Linked DNA regions of Homo sapiens: region 1 is linked to region 2. Evidence: promoter capture Hi-C in human tissues and cell types (Jung and others, 2019). All regions are on one chromosome and are shown on one strand. The core of a region is centred on a gene start or on the middle of the fragment in contact, and the rest is flanking DNA. Distances in the headings are between cores, read along the strand shown.

Region 1 (6,748 bases), core at 1,385-3,884, 630 kb after region 2:
TAACAGAGACGGGGTTTCACCGTGTTAGCCAGGATGGTCTTGATCTCCTGACCTCGTGATCCGCCCGCCTTGGCCTCCCAAAGTGCTGGGATTACAGGCGTGAGCCACTGCACCCGGCCAAATTTTTTTTTTTGAATCAGAGTCTCGCTCTGTCACCCAAGCTATAGTACAGTGGCACCATCTCAGCTCACTGTAACCTCTGCCTCCCGGGTTCAAGTGATTCTCCTGCCTGAGCCTCCCGAGTAGCTGGGATTACAGGCAAGAGCCACCATGCTTGGCTAATTTTTTATTTTATTTTATTTTATTTTATTTTTTTGAGACAGAGTCTCGCTCTGTCGCCCAGGCTGGAGTGCAGTGGCATGATCCCAGCTCACTGCAAGCTCCACCTCCCGAGTTCACACCATTCTCTTGCCTCAGCCTCCTGAGTAGCTGGGACTACAGGTGTCCACCACCACACCTGGCAAAAATTTTTTTTGTAATTTTTAGTAGAGACGGGGTTTCACCGTGTTAGCCAGGATGGTCTCGATCTCCTGACCTCTAGTGATCTGTCCTCCTCAGCTTCCCAAAGTGCTGGGATTACCATATAAACATTTTGATCAATGATAGACTACATATGTCAAATAAACATTTATCATGTGTGTATATATGCACATATATATAAACATTTATGTGTATATAAGTGTGTACACATACACAAATATTTATATGATGTTTCAGTCATCATACGACCAAAACATACGATGTTTCGATGAACAGCATATACCATAGTGATTTCATAAGATTATAACACAGCATATACACAAATATGATATATGGCACTTGATATTGGCATAGCAGATCAAGTAGGGATTGATATTCAGTAATTGTGCTGGGACATTTTGTTTTCCATATTTTAAAAAGTATATAAATTTTTTAAAATGTCATCTAGTTTGTGCATTTACCCTGTCATATTTGCACGGCAGTAAAACCTCCTGCTGGTGTATTTCTCTAAGCATATCCCCATTGTTACGTGACAAATGACTTTATATATGGAGAATAGAACAGAAGGTCTCTAGATTAAAAGACACTGAGCATAGTTGAGGACAAGAGGGACTAAATAAAAATACACTAAATACGGCCAGGCACAATGGCTTACGCCTGTAATCACAGCACTCTGGGAGGCTGAGGTGAGGAGTTTGAGCCTGGGAGTTTGAGGCTACAGTGAGCTATGATCATGCCACTGCACTCCAGCCTGGACAACGTAGCGAGACTTTGTCTCTACAAAAACTTTAAAAAGTACTAAATATCATGAAATACCTCTCCAAGCCTTTACCCCTACTTGGCTCCTAGGATACTGACAGCCTTGCTTACGTTATACTCTCTAGAGTGGTATAATATGGGGAATATGATTAACTCAAGAAAAAAAAAAAAGATACAGACTTTAGACCTCCAATTAAACAGCCCAATCAGATCATCCTGTAGTGAGGCTCAGAGTTGGCAAGCTTCATACATACACGGTTTCTAGTCATTGTAGAGATCCACTCTGAAGGGTGAGCAGCAGTTAAAGATGATAGACATCTGACCCTCTATATAGACCTAAATAAATAGGAAAAAGCAACTTGAGGCCGGGCATGGTGGCTCAGGCCTGTAATCCCAATACTTTGGAAGGCCGAGGCTGGATGATCACTTGAGGTCAGGAATTTGAGACCAGCCTGGCCAACATGATGAAACCCCATCCCTACTGAAAATACAAAAATTAGCTGGTTGTGGTAGCGGGCACCTGTAATCCCAGCTATTCAGAAGGTTGAGGCATGAGAATCGCTTGAACCTGGGAGGTAGAGGTTGCAGTGAGCCGAGATCGTGCCACTGCACTCCAGCCTGGGTGACAGAATGACATTCTGTCTCAAAAAGAAAAAAAAAAAGGAAAAGAAAAAGCAACTTGAATGAAATGGAGATAATACAGAGAGATACGAACTTATAAAAATCATTAAGCATATCCTTAAAGAGATAAAAGATAATACTGTAGCCATGAACAAAAACAAGAAGGTGTAAAAAGGTAAACATTCAGAGAACTAGAAACAGCACTTGGAAATAAACACATCATGGCGGGGAAAAGAAAAAAGAAAAACCAAAGAGTTGATAATAGGCCAGGTGTGGTGGCTCATGCCTGTAATCCCAGCACTTGGGAGGCCAAGGCAGTGGATCACCTGAGGTCAGGAGTTCAATAGCAGCCTGACCAACATGGTGAAACCCCATCTCTACTAAAAATACAAAAATCAGCCAGATGTGGTGGCAGACACCTGTAATTCCAGTTACTTGGGAGCCTGAGTCATGAGAATCACTTGAACCCGAGAGGCAGAGGCTGCAGTGAGCCAAGATGTGCGCCATTGCACTCCAGCCTGGGGGACAAGAGTGAGACTCCATCTCAAAAAAAAAAAAAAAAAAAAGAGGAGTTGATCAAGTTGAAATATTTCAGAAACTAGAGCAAGTATAGAAATAGATGTGACTGGGTGCTGTGGCTCACGCCTGTAATCCCAGCACTTTGAGAGGCCAAGGCAGGTGGATCACAAGGTCAGGAGATTGAAACCATCCTGGCTAACATGGTGAAACCCTGTCTGTACTAAAGATACAAAAAATTAGCCGGGTGTGGTGGTGGGCACCTGTAGTCCCAGCTGCTTGGGAGGCTGAGGCAGGAGAATGGCGTGAACCCGGGAGGTGGAGCTTGCAGTAAGCCAAGATCGCACCATTGCACTCTAGCCTGGGCGACACAACAAAACTCTGTCTCAAAAAAAAAAAAAAAAAAGAGATGCAAGAGTGAAAAAAACAAAAACAAAAACATAGAGGATCATCAGTTCAGGACACCCTCTGTCCAAGTAATAGGATTCCCAGAAAGAACAGAAAAATACTGGAGGATAATCATCAAAGAAATAATTTTAAAAAATCTCCCAGAACTGAAGAACGTCAGTTTCCAGATTGAAAAGGCCCATCAAGTGGCTAACTCAATAGATGAAAATAACCCACACCATGGCAAATTGCTGTAAAAACAGAACACTGGGAACAAAGAGAAGATCCTAAAAGCTTTCAGCAAGAATGGGAAAAGGGTCACATACAAAGGATCAGGGATTGGAATGGCATTAGATTTTTAAAGGCTAACACTGAAAATTAAAAGACATGGAGGCTGGGTGCCATGGCACATGCCTCTAATCCCAGCACTCTGGGAGGCCAAGATGGGCAGATCCCTTGAGCTCAGGAGTTTGAGACCAGCCTGGGCAACATAGTGAGACCCCATCTACAAAAAAAAATTTAAAAATTAGCCAGGTGTAGGTACATGCCTGTAGTCCAGCTACTTAGGAGGCTGAGGCAGGAGGGTTGCTTGAGCTCAGGGGATCAAGGCTGTAGTCAACCATGATTGTGCCACCACTGCACTCCAGCCTGGGCTATAGAGTAAGACCCTGTCTCAAAAATAAAATACGACAATGGAACAATGCCTTAACCCCTGAGGAAGAATTATTTTCAACCTGGAATTCTATATCCTGCCAAACTATCAATAGTGTGAGGAAAGATTAATAACTTTTTAAAAATAATTTCAACTTTTATTTTATCTTTTTTTTTTTTTTTTTTTTTTTGTGACGGAGTCTCGCTGTTGCCCAGGCTGGAGTGCAGTGGCGCGATCTCGGCTCACTGCAGGCTCCGCCCCCCAGGTTCACGCCATTCTCCTGCCTCAACCTCCCGAGTAGCTGAGACTACAGGCGCCCGCCACCTCGCCCAGCTAATTTTTTGTATTTTTAGTAGAGACGGGGTTTCACCGTGTTAGCCAGGATGGTCTCTATCTCCTGACCTCGTGATCCACCCGCCTCGGCCTCCCAAAGTGCTGGGATTACAGGCATGAGCCACCACGCTCGGCCCTATTTTATCTTATTTGAGAGAAATCTCATTCTGTCACCCAGGCTGGGTGCAGTGGCACCACCATGGATCACTGCAGCCTTGACCCCCCAGGCTCAAGCAATCCTCTCACCTCAGCCTCCCGAGGAGCTGGGTCTACAGGCACATACCACCACACCTGACTAATTTTTAAATTTTTTGTAGAGACAGTGTCTCACTCTGTTACCTAGGCTGATCTCAAACTCCTAGACTCAAGTGATCCTCCTCTCTTGGCCTCTCCAAGTGCTGGAATTACAGGCAAGAGCCACCATGCCCAGCCCAACTTTTATTTTAGATTCGGAGGGGGGTACCTGCGCAGGTTTGTTACATGGGTATATCACATGATTCTGAGATTTGGGATACTGTTGAACCCATCACCCAGGAAGTGAGCATAGTACCCAACAAATAATTTTTCAATCCTTGCCCCCACCTCTCTCCCTCCTCCAACAGTCCCCAGTGTCTATCATTACCATCTTTATGTTCATATACCCAATGTTTAGCTCCCATTTATAAGTTAGAACATGCAGTATTTGGTTTTCTGCTCTTGCATTAATTCACTTAGGATTATAGCCTCCAGTTGCATACATGTTGCTGCAAAGGACATGATTTCATTATATCTTATGGATGTGTAATAACATTTTAAAACATGCAAAGCTTCAATAAATTTACCTCTTATGCCAACTTTCTCAGGATGCTACTAGAGGGAAAGAACCATTCACCCAAATGAAGGAGTAAATGAAAAAAGAAGATATGGAATCTAAGAAACGAGGGATCCAGCTAAGGAAAGAGGCAAAGGAATTACCAAGATGATAATGGAGGGAGATCCCTGGAGGGCAATTGTGCAGCAAGGACAGATGGAAGCAGAGCAGAGGGCTCCTTAAGAGATGCCTCTCAGAAGATGGAATAGATAGAACGTGTCATGCATTCAAAAGCCTGGAGAGGGAAATTCAGAGAATTGAGGGAGTGTTTGAGGTTGACTTGCTGATAACTACATAGCAAACTAGGCAATATAATAATAATAATAATTCTAAGGATAAAATGTTGTAAGAAATAAAAAGTAACTATAGTAAACTACATGGCTTAGCTGTGAAGAGCATTTCCAAATCCTAATAAAGTAAACACTGAGTAATTTTATTGCCTATTAGGAGGATGGAAGATGGGAAGGGTATCTGTATGGCAGGGGAGTGGGGAGTGGGATGAAAGTTAAATCCTGCCTGGGCGTGGTGGTTCACGCCTTGTAATCCCGGCACTTTGGAAGTCCAAGGTGGGCAGATTATTTGAGGTCAGGAGTTTGAGACCAGCCTGGCTAACCTGGTGATGCCCTGTCTCTACTAAAAATACAAAAATTAGCCAGGCGTGGTAGGTGATACTTGTAATCCCAGCTACTCAGCAGGCTGAGGCAAGAGAATCGCTTGAACCCTGGAGGCGGAGGTTGCAGTGAGCTAAGATGGCGCCATTGCACTCCAGCCTGGGCAACAAGAGAGAAACTCTGTCTCAAAAAAGAAAAAAGAAAGTTAAGTCCCTAATCTTATATAGTGTGGGAAATCAATAGAAAATGCCTGAAATTTAAATACCAAGAAATAGCAATATAAATATGGAGATTAGGAGGTAAATACCAAAATAAACAACTAAATAAATAATAATAGTTGTTTCTGGGAAGTAGGACCAGGATGGGAGAACTGTTCATGTTCATAATCTTGTGGAACTGTTTGCCTCTTTAATCTCTGTGCATCTGTTACTTTGATTAGAAATAAAACTGGGCTGGGTGTGGTGGCTCACACCTGTAATCCCAGCACTTTTGGAAGAATTGCTTTGAGCCTAGGAGTTTGAGACCAACCTGGGCAACAAGGTGAGACCTTGTCTGTACAAAAAATAAAATTAGCCAGGTGTGGTGCACGCCTGTGGTCTTAGCTCCTTGGGAGGTTGAGGTGAGAGAATCGCTTGAGACCAGGAGATGGAGGCTGTAGTGAGCCATGACTGTGCCACTGCACTCTAGCCTGAGTGACAGAACAAGACCCTGTCTCAAAAAATAATAATAAAAGTAAAACTAAATAAAACTAGTTTTAAAAAGTCATTTGTGGCAGCACCTTGGGTTCACAGAGCAGAATGCTAGAGGCGAAACTATAGAGATGGGCGAGAGCCACATGTTACAGGCTTTTGAATGCCAGTTGCTAAAATGTTTAGATTTCATTCTCTAAGAGGAGGGCGGAGTTCCCTGCTATTGTAGATGTTCGGATTCGGCACTCTCTAAGAGCAGTGCAATGCCTATAAAGGCTCTTGAGCAGGGAGAGACAGGTTCAGACTTGTGCTTAGGGAAGGTAACAGTGCATCTGAGCTGGAACGGACGCTTGAGATTACCCTGTAAGTCAAATTTACTTCCAGTACAGACAGGTAGACTGGTGTGTACAGGCAAGAAGGCCTGAATGCCCAGCCAGTGGGATTCTGATCCTTCTAAGCTCTGGCCAACCCTTTCCCCTCTCGGTGGCTGCTACCAATGCCCTGAAAAGACTAGGGAACCAGGTTAGCTCTCTTTATTCCCCAGCTCCTGCCTCCTTTTGGCCCAATCTACTTCCTGATTAACACCCTATCTTGCTATTCTTTGTTTCTATGTCTTTCTGGTGAATATGGGCAGGCTCAATAGTCAGTACCCTGTGGCTGGGCATGGTGGCTCATGCCTGTAATTCCAGCACTTTGGGAGGCTGAGGTGGGCGGATCACCTAAGGTCAAGGGTTTGAGACCAGCCTGACCAACATGGTGAAACCTGTCTCTACTAAAAATACAAAATTAGCTGGGTGTGGTGGTACACGCCTGTAATCCCAGCTAATTGGGAGACTGAGGCAGGAGAATC
Region 2 (6,919 bases), core at 1,542-4,041:
TGCACCCGCCTTGGCCTCCCAAAGTGTTGGGATTACAGGCGTGAGCCACTGTGCCCAGCTATTCATTTTATTTTATTTATTTATTTTTTGAGATGAAGTCTCGCTCTGTTGCCAGGCTGGAGTGCAGTTGCACGATGTCGGCTCACTGCAAACTGCCTCCCAGGTTCAAGCGATTCTCCTGCCTCAGCCTCCCGAAGTAGCTGAGATTTCAGGCGCCTGCCACCACGCCTGCCTAATTTTTGTATTTTTAGTAGAGATGGGGTTTCACCAGGGGATCCAGGCTGGTCTCAAACTCCTGACCTCAGGTGATCTGCCCGCCTCGGCCTCCCAAAGTGCTGGGATTACAGGAGTGAGCCACCGCGCCCGGCCTGCATCCAGCTATTTATTTTTTTTTGAGATGGAGACTCACCATCGCCCAGGCTGGAGTGTAGTAGTGCAATCTCAGCTCACTGCAACCTCCAACTCCTGGGTTCAAGTGGGTCTCTTGCCTCAGCCTCCCAAGTAGCTGGGATTACAGGAGCCTGCCACCACTCCCGGCTAATTTTTGTATTTTTAGTAGAGATGGTGTTTCACTATGTTCGCTAAGCTGGTCTCGAACTCCTGACTTCAAGTGATCCGCCTGCCTCAGCCTCCCAAAGTGCTGGGATAACAGGCACCTGCTACCACGCCCAGCCTAAAATATATTTTAAAATATATTTCTCTGAGTTCCTCAAGGTAGAGTCCATGTCTTTTGTCCCCAGAACCTAGTACAAAGTCTTGTACCTCAAAGTTGCTCAGTGAATATTAATTTAATGGATGAATCGGTCACACCAGTAATTGCAGAGGTTTTCTCAGGCCCTAGCCCTGGCTGCAAGGACTTTGGAGAGATCTCCCCTCCCAACACCCTCCATTTACCACATCATCAGACTGTGGTAGCCATTCAATGAGTGCTTAGCGTGAATTCTACACAGTGCTAATTACCTGTAATTCTCACAATGTCCTTAAGCGGTGGCTACTAATATGTCTTCATTTTACACTTAACCTTAATCCCAGCTACTCGATTACAATCCGGGTTACGTGACCTGGCTCACGTCACCTAGCTAATAATGGAAGAGCCCATGTATGTTTGCCATAGGAATTGGCATTTTCACGTCCAGCTCTCTAGCCCCAAAGATTTCAACCTCTTCGAGCCTTGACAGATTGGAATAAGAATCCTCTCCAGGAATCTTTCCCAATATGCTGGAACCTAAAGGGAAATAAAAACCCCTACTCCGATCAGCGTAGACTGGGCCATGGTGAAAAGGAATGGATGATACTCCAGGTGTGAGGAATTGCAGCTTTTTAGCCTGCCAGTTATTTTTCACTCAGCCATTTGCAGGAAATGAGGCACACTGCTTTCCATAACTGATTTGTCTTGCAACTTTCTGAACAAGTCACAGCTTCCCCTTTTTTTTTTTTTTGAGACGGAGTCTCGCTCTGTTGCCCAGGCTGCAGTGCAGTGGCGAGATCTCGGCTCACTGCAACCTTTGCCTCCCGGGTTCAAGTGATTCTCCTGCCTTAGCCTCCCGAGTAGCTGGGATTACAGGAGCCTGCCACCACACCTGGCTAATTTTCGTATTTTTAGTAGAGACGGGGTTTCACCATGTTGGCCAGGTTGGAACCTTGGCCTATTTATTTATTTATTTTTGAGACGGAGTTTCGCTCTGTTGCCCAGGCTGGAGTGCAGTGGCGAGCTCTCGGCTCACTGCAACCTCTGCCTTCCGGGTTCTAGTATTCTCCTACCTCAGCCTCCCGAGTAGCTGGGATTACAGGCGCCCGCCACCACGCCCGGCTAATTTTTGTATTTTTTAGTAGAGACGGGGGGGTCTCACCATCTTGGCCAGGCTGGTCTTGAACTCCTGACCTCGTGATCCACCAGCCTAGGCCTCCCAAAGTGCTGGGATTACAGGCGTGAGCCACCGCGTCCGGCCCCTTGGTTTATTTTTCTAAGAAACAGACTAACACTGATCTCACTAGTAGCATTGTTAATATTAAACAAGATAGCTAATAGCTTTAAAGCGTCTAATCACGGTACCCCCACGAGTAGTAGTCACACAGCAAATCATAGGCAGGAGTGGACAAACAGCGCTGGGAGCATTAATTCTGGTAGATTTGGAGTCTGGGCAGGGCCTAAGAGGATGGGATCAGCGGATTGGGCCAGCCAAAGGGGGCGGGTTCAGAGGGAGGAGCCAGCTGCCTCCCGCTGCAAGCCCCGAGCTTTGAATCAAGCGCGGTAGTTTCAGCTGTAGCCAATCCTAGAACAAAATCTTTTTGCGTCAGTTGTTGCTGAGGCCTAGATCTCACCCAGATCAGTTCTAGTCGCTGCTGCTTGTACCCGTCCTCGGCCCTTGCGTGTCCGTCCGTTACGACTCAGAGGACGGAGAGAAAGTCTAAGTCACCTTCCTCAGTATCCAGGCCGGAAGGAGACTCTCAGCTACTCGCCCTGAACATGCAGAGCAGCACTGGCTTCCCTGTCTCTGGATGCCGCAGGGGCGTCCTGTCAGGAGTTGTAGTGTCAAGATTCCAGTTCTTCTTATGCGACTTGCTGGAGAAGCAGGAAGTTGCTGTTTATTGGAGAAGTCGGGCTAGGGAGGGAAACAATCCCGCGGAGCCATATGGAGAGGGCAGGAGGTGTCTAGATAGTGGTAGGCCGGCGGGGGACGGAGGGTATGGGTGGTGAGTCCTGGCCCTTTAAACCCGAGGGGGAGGATCCGGAAGTGGATGGGCGGGGCGAAGGGTCCTCGTATATAAAAGGGCCCCGGCCGCGCGGGGTCTCTAATCTGCCATTTTCTGTCCCTGAGTGAGTCTCTGGCGTCCCAAATTGCCTGTTTTTCTCGCAGGCTCTATTCCGTTCGCTGGTTCGCCACCTCAGGGGAACGATGGCCATGGAGTCCACAGCCACTGCCGCCGTCGCCGCGGAGCTGGTTTCTGCCGACAAGTAAGCGGGACTGTGGAAAGCTTAAGGCACTGGCCAGTCCGCGGGGAGGGCTAATGGACGGGGGCTCCGGAGAAGGGGCAGACCGGTGGGCGGGAGTACTTGCCTTCCCAAGAGCAGCTGTCGCTGTTCGGGAAGGCCTGGTCACTGGAGCAGTCCTTCTTTTGCTGAGAGCCTCGCGCAGCAGCGGTAACGGCGGTCGGCTGGCGCCCCCTGCCCCGCTTTTCGCGGCCGCCATCTTGCCGGGGGCAGCGGCGGCTGTATCCTTCGCCTGCCCCTCTCCTTCCTCCCCCAGCCCGGGGCGGTTGGCCGGGAGGCGGGGCCCTGGCGCGCGGGTTGGCCTTCACGCCCCTTCTGTCCCCAGCGTGTGCCTCTGGTAGAACCCCTGGATAACCCGGGAATATAACCAACGAAGATTTGGCGCCAAAAGGGAAAAAAAACCTTGCACGAGGAAGGAGGCTGGACCTGAGGGGTCGGGGTGGGCGGGGCCTTGCTGAGGGCGGGGTTTTGCGCGCGTGCGTTCGCTTCCCTCGCCGGCCCTGGGGCAGGGGGCGGGGCCTTGAGGAGGCGGGAAAACTCCATTGTTTGGGGCCGCTGCGGCTCCAGCAGGAGCTTTGGACTATCTCCGTGGGGCCGGCGAGGCTAGTTCCCCCCGACACCTCGCTCACGTCTTGTGCTGGGAGATAGTTATCGCTCCCCGCGACTCCGTGAGCCCCTGCCTGTGGTGGGGAGGATTGTCGTTCTTTAGACTTTGGAGGTGGTGTCTGTTTGGGGGGAACATTACCGGACGTAAAGCGTCTTCAGGAAGCGCTGTCTGGAGCTCTCACCAGCACTGTTTGGTTGCTAGGTGAATCGGCAGTAGTATGCACGAAGTGGAGAAGGACTGGAGGGAAACAAGATAGGATTGTTTTGAAAGCGGCACAGTGCCACTCAGGCGTAATCTGTTTTTTGAACAGTGGAGGGAAACACTACACGAGTTCAAGGAAACAAGTGCTGTTTCCCATACAGTAGGTCTGATTTCCCAATCTTGCCATATTTTTTTAGGCATCTGGTTCTATTTTTTTTTCTAATCTTGTGCGCTTTAGAGGTTAGTTGCCTTCCCTGTAAAAGGAATGGTTGCTGTGAAGTTTTTTAAATTGATATTCTATAGGCTTACACTCTGTCATGATTATGTCTTTGTTTGTTTATAGTTAGAGATTTACGTATATCTCTGCTTACCACCTTTTCTCTCTGCGTTCTTGTAGAGCAGTGGTTCTCAAGTCACCCTGAGAATCATTTGGGAACTCATGGGAAATACAATTTTAATTTCAAACTCCCATTACCTGCCTCTTTCCCCATTGATTCGATATAAGCAGTATAGATTGGGCTTGGGAGTCGTGCTATAGCTATTATAAAAAGAGCTGCTTTTTATAATGTTTCCTAGACAGCTCTAGCAGTCAGTATTTCACTGACAGCTGTGTGTTTTTGTTTTGTTTTTGCAGACAGGGTCTGGATCTCACATCCAGACTGGAGTGTAGTGTTGTGATCATAGCTCACTGCAACCTCGAACTCCTGGGCACAACTGATCTTCCCTAGTAGCTTGGGACTACAGGTGTGCCACTACACCTGGCCAATTTTTTGTAGATACAAGGTCTTAATGTTGCCCAGGTTGGTCTCAGACTCTTGGACTCAAGCAGTCCTCCCGCCTTGGCCTCCCAAAGTGTTGAGGTTACAGGCGTGAGGCACGGCGCAGGGCCAGGTGTTTTTGTTTTTGTTTTTTGAGGTAGAAGTATGCAACAAATACCTCTTGCAGGTCCCCTGTGTCTAGCCAGAGTTAGGTCATTAGTGAATTTAGTTTCCTGGCAGGTTATACATAGAGAAAGTTTATGTATATGTGGCTAGAAGAAAGCAAACCATTTAGTTCCTCACAGCATAAATTGAAAGCTAAAACTGAGCAATTATATGTGCTGGGTGTGTGGGGGTGGGGGGGCAGGGTCTCTGTCACCCAGGTTGGAGTGCAGTGATGCCATCTCGGCCCCCTGCAGCCCCTACCGTGCCGTGTGTGTGTGTGTGTGTGTGTGTGTGTGTGTGTGTGTGTGTGTGGTGTGTGTGTGTGTGTGTGTGTGTGGTGTGTGTGTGTGTCACCCAGGCTGGAGTGCAGTGATGCCATCTCGGCCCACAGCAGCCCCTACCTCCTGGCCTCAAGTGATTGTCCGGCCTCAGCCTCCCGAGTAGCTGGGACTGCAGGCGCACACCACAAGGCCCAGCTGATTCTAGTATTTATTTTGTAAAGACGAGTTTTTGCCATGTTGCCCAGGCTGGTCTCCCAACGCCTAGGCTCAAGGGATCCACCCACGTGGGCCTCTCAAAGTGCTGAGATTACCGGCGTGAGCCACCAAGCCTGGCTAGTATTTTCATTTTCATTTTCATTCTTCGTTTCCCCATCTAATTAGTGTGAGAGAACATGAAAGCAGTGTGTCTCAGTTAAGTAAGTTAGTGGGGACACTTAGAGGTAAAGTTTATAAGGTCCTCATGTTTAAGGGTAGGATAAAGAAAATGACTTGAATTTAGACTTTAGGTAAGAATGTACATTATAATTCGAGGATGACCATTGAAAGAATAAATATAACTTCCAAACCAGTAGAAAGAAAAAAAATGGAATGAGAAATAAACCTCAGTTCAGGTTTTTTAAATTTAGGAGATGAGGATCTTACTATGTTGCCCAGGCTGGATTCCCAACTCCTAGTCTCAAGCAATCCTTCCATCTCAGCCTTCTGGGTAGCTGGGACTACAGGCATGCATCACCTCGCCTGGCTTAGAATTGGCTTTGATAGCAGCTTCATTGCTTCAGTAGTGATATTGGACCACAGTTTTGTCGTCTGCAAAAAGTCTTAGGTTGGCTTTTGTCCCCTCGTGCCATTAAAGCAGTATTGTTTAAGGTGATGTATATCTACATGCTAAATTAATCCTGTCATTCTTAGCTTTCTAACTAGTTCTTAGTTGGTTTTTTTTTGTTGTTTTTTTTTTGAGAGGGAGTTTTGTCACCCAGGCTGGAGTGCAGTGGCACAATCTCTGCTCACTGCAACCTCCGCCCTCCCGGATTCAAGCAAGTCTCTTGCCTCAGCCTCCCAAGTAGCTGGGACTGCAGGTGTGTACCACCACACCTGGCTAATTTTTTGGGGTTTTGCCATGTTGGCCAGGGTGATCTCGAACTCCTGACCTCAGGTGATCAGCCGGTCTCGGCGTGAGCCACCGTGCCCGGCTGCAGTTATGATTTAATACTGCATCTTTGTTCATTTACATATCTCAACTGTGGATGGTGCCGTGTATGGTCTGTGTGTTTTGATGAATTTTAACTTTTTATAATTTGTATTTTATGGTAGTGAAGAAGACTAGTACCTACATATCTTTTATGCATTGATTACATACATTTTGTTAATTCAACATTTCTAGGCTATGAGGTTTGTCTTGAGTTTTTTCATATATATATATATATATATATATATAATTAATTTTTTGGAGAGAGAGTCTTGTTGTCTTGCCCAAGCTGGAGTGTAGTGGCCAGATCTTGGCTTACTGCAACTTCTGCCTCCCCTGTGCAAGCGATTCTTGTGCATCAGCCTCCCAAGTAGCTGAGACTACAGTTTACAAAAATTAGCCGAGCATGGGTAGCAGGGTCCTGTAATCGCTTGAAACCGGGAGGCAGAGGTTGCAGTGAGTCGAGATTGTGCCACTGCACTCTAGCCTCAGAGCAAGACTCCATCTCAAAAAAAAAAGGGCCAGGTGGTGTGGCTCACGTGGTAATCCCAACACTGTGGGAAGCCAACACGGGCATATCACTTGAAGCCAGGAGTTCGAGACCAGCCTGGCTGACATGGCAAAACCCCGTCTCTACTAAAAATACAAAAATCAGCCAGGCGTGGTTGCGCATGACTGTAGTCATTCAGAGTCTAACTCCGTTGCTCAGGCTGGAGTGCACTGGTGCGA

What was found. Contacts are between HindIII fragments. The study calls those that stand out against the background at their distance.
Region 1: a contact is called between a fragment that was not itself captured here and the fragment with the promoter of NASP in region 2, in 1 of the 25 tissues and cell types used here (bladder).

The regions. Positions count from the first base shown.
Region 1 is chr1:46,212,462-46,219,209 of GRCh38, forward strand. The region is part of intron 1 of LURAP1 (leucine rich adaptor protein 1); the gene reads left to right. It also overlaps a transcript of POMGNT1 not described here. Among named protein-coding and RNA genes, the nearest start is that of LURAP1, 13 kb to the left of the region's middle. RefSeq lists an enhancer at 5,694-6,195. The HindIII fragment of the contact is 6,161 bases long and covers 1-5,715 here.
Region 2 is chr1:45,581,250-45,588,168 of GRCh38, forward strand. NASP (nuclear autoantigenic sperm protein) reads left to right here and starts at 2,792. Exons shown (of 15, transcript NM_002482.4): 1 at 2,792-2,956. The coding sequence starts at 2,898. RefSeq lists enhancers at 1,408-1,457, 1,868-1,927, 2,378-2,687 and silencers at 2,218-2,277, 3,188-3,487. The HindIII fragment of the contact is 14,749 bases long and covers 1-6,753 here.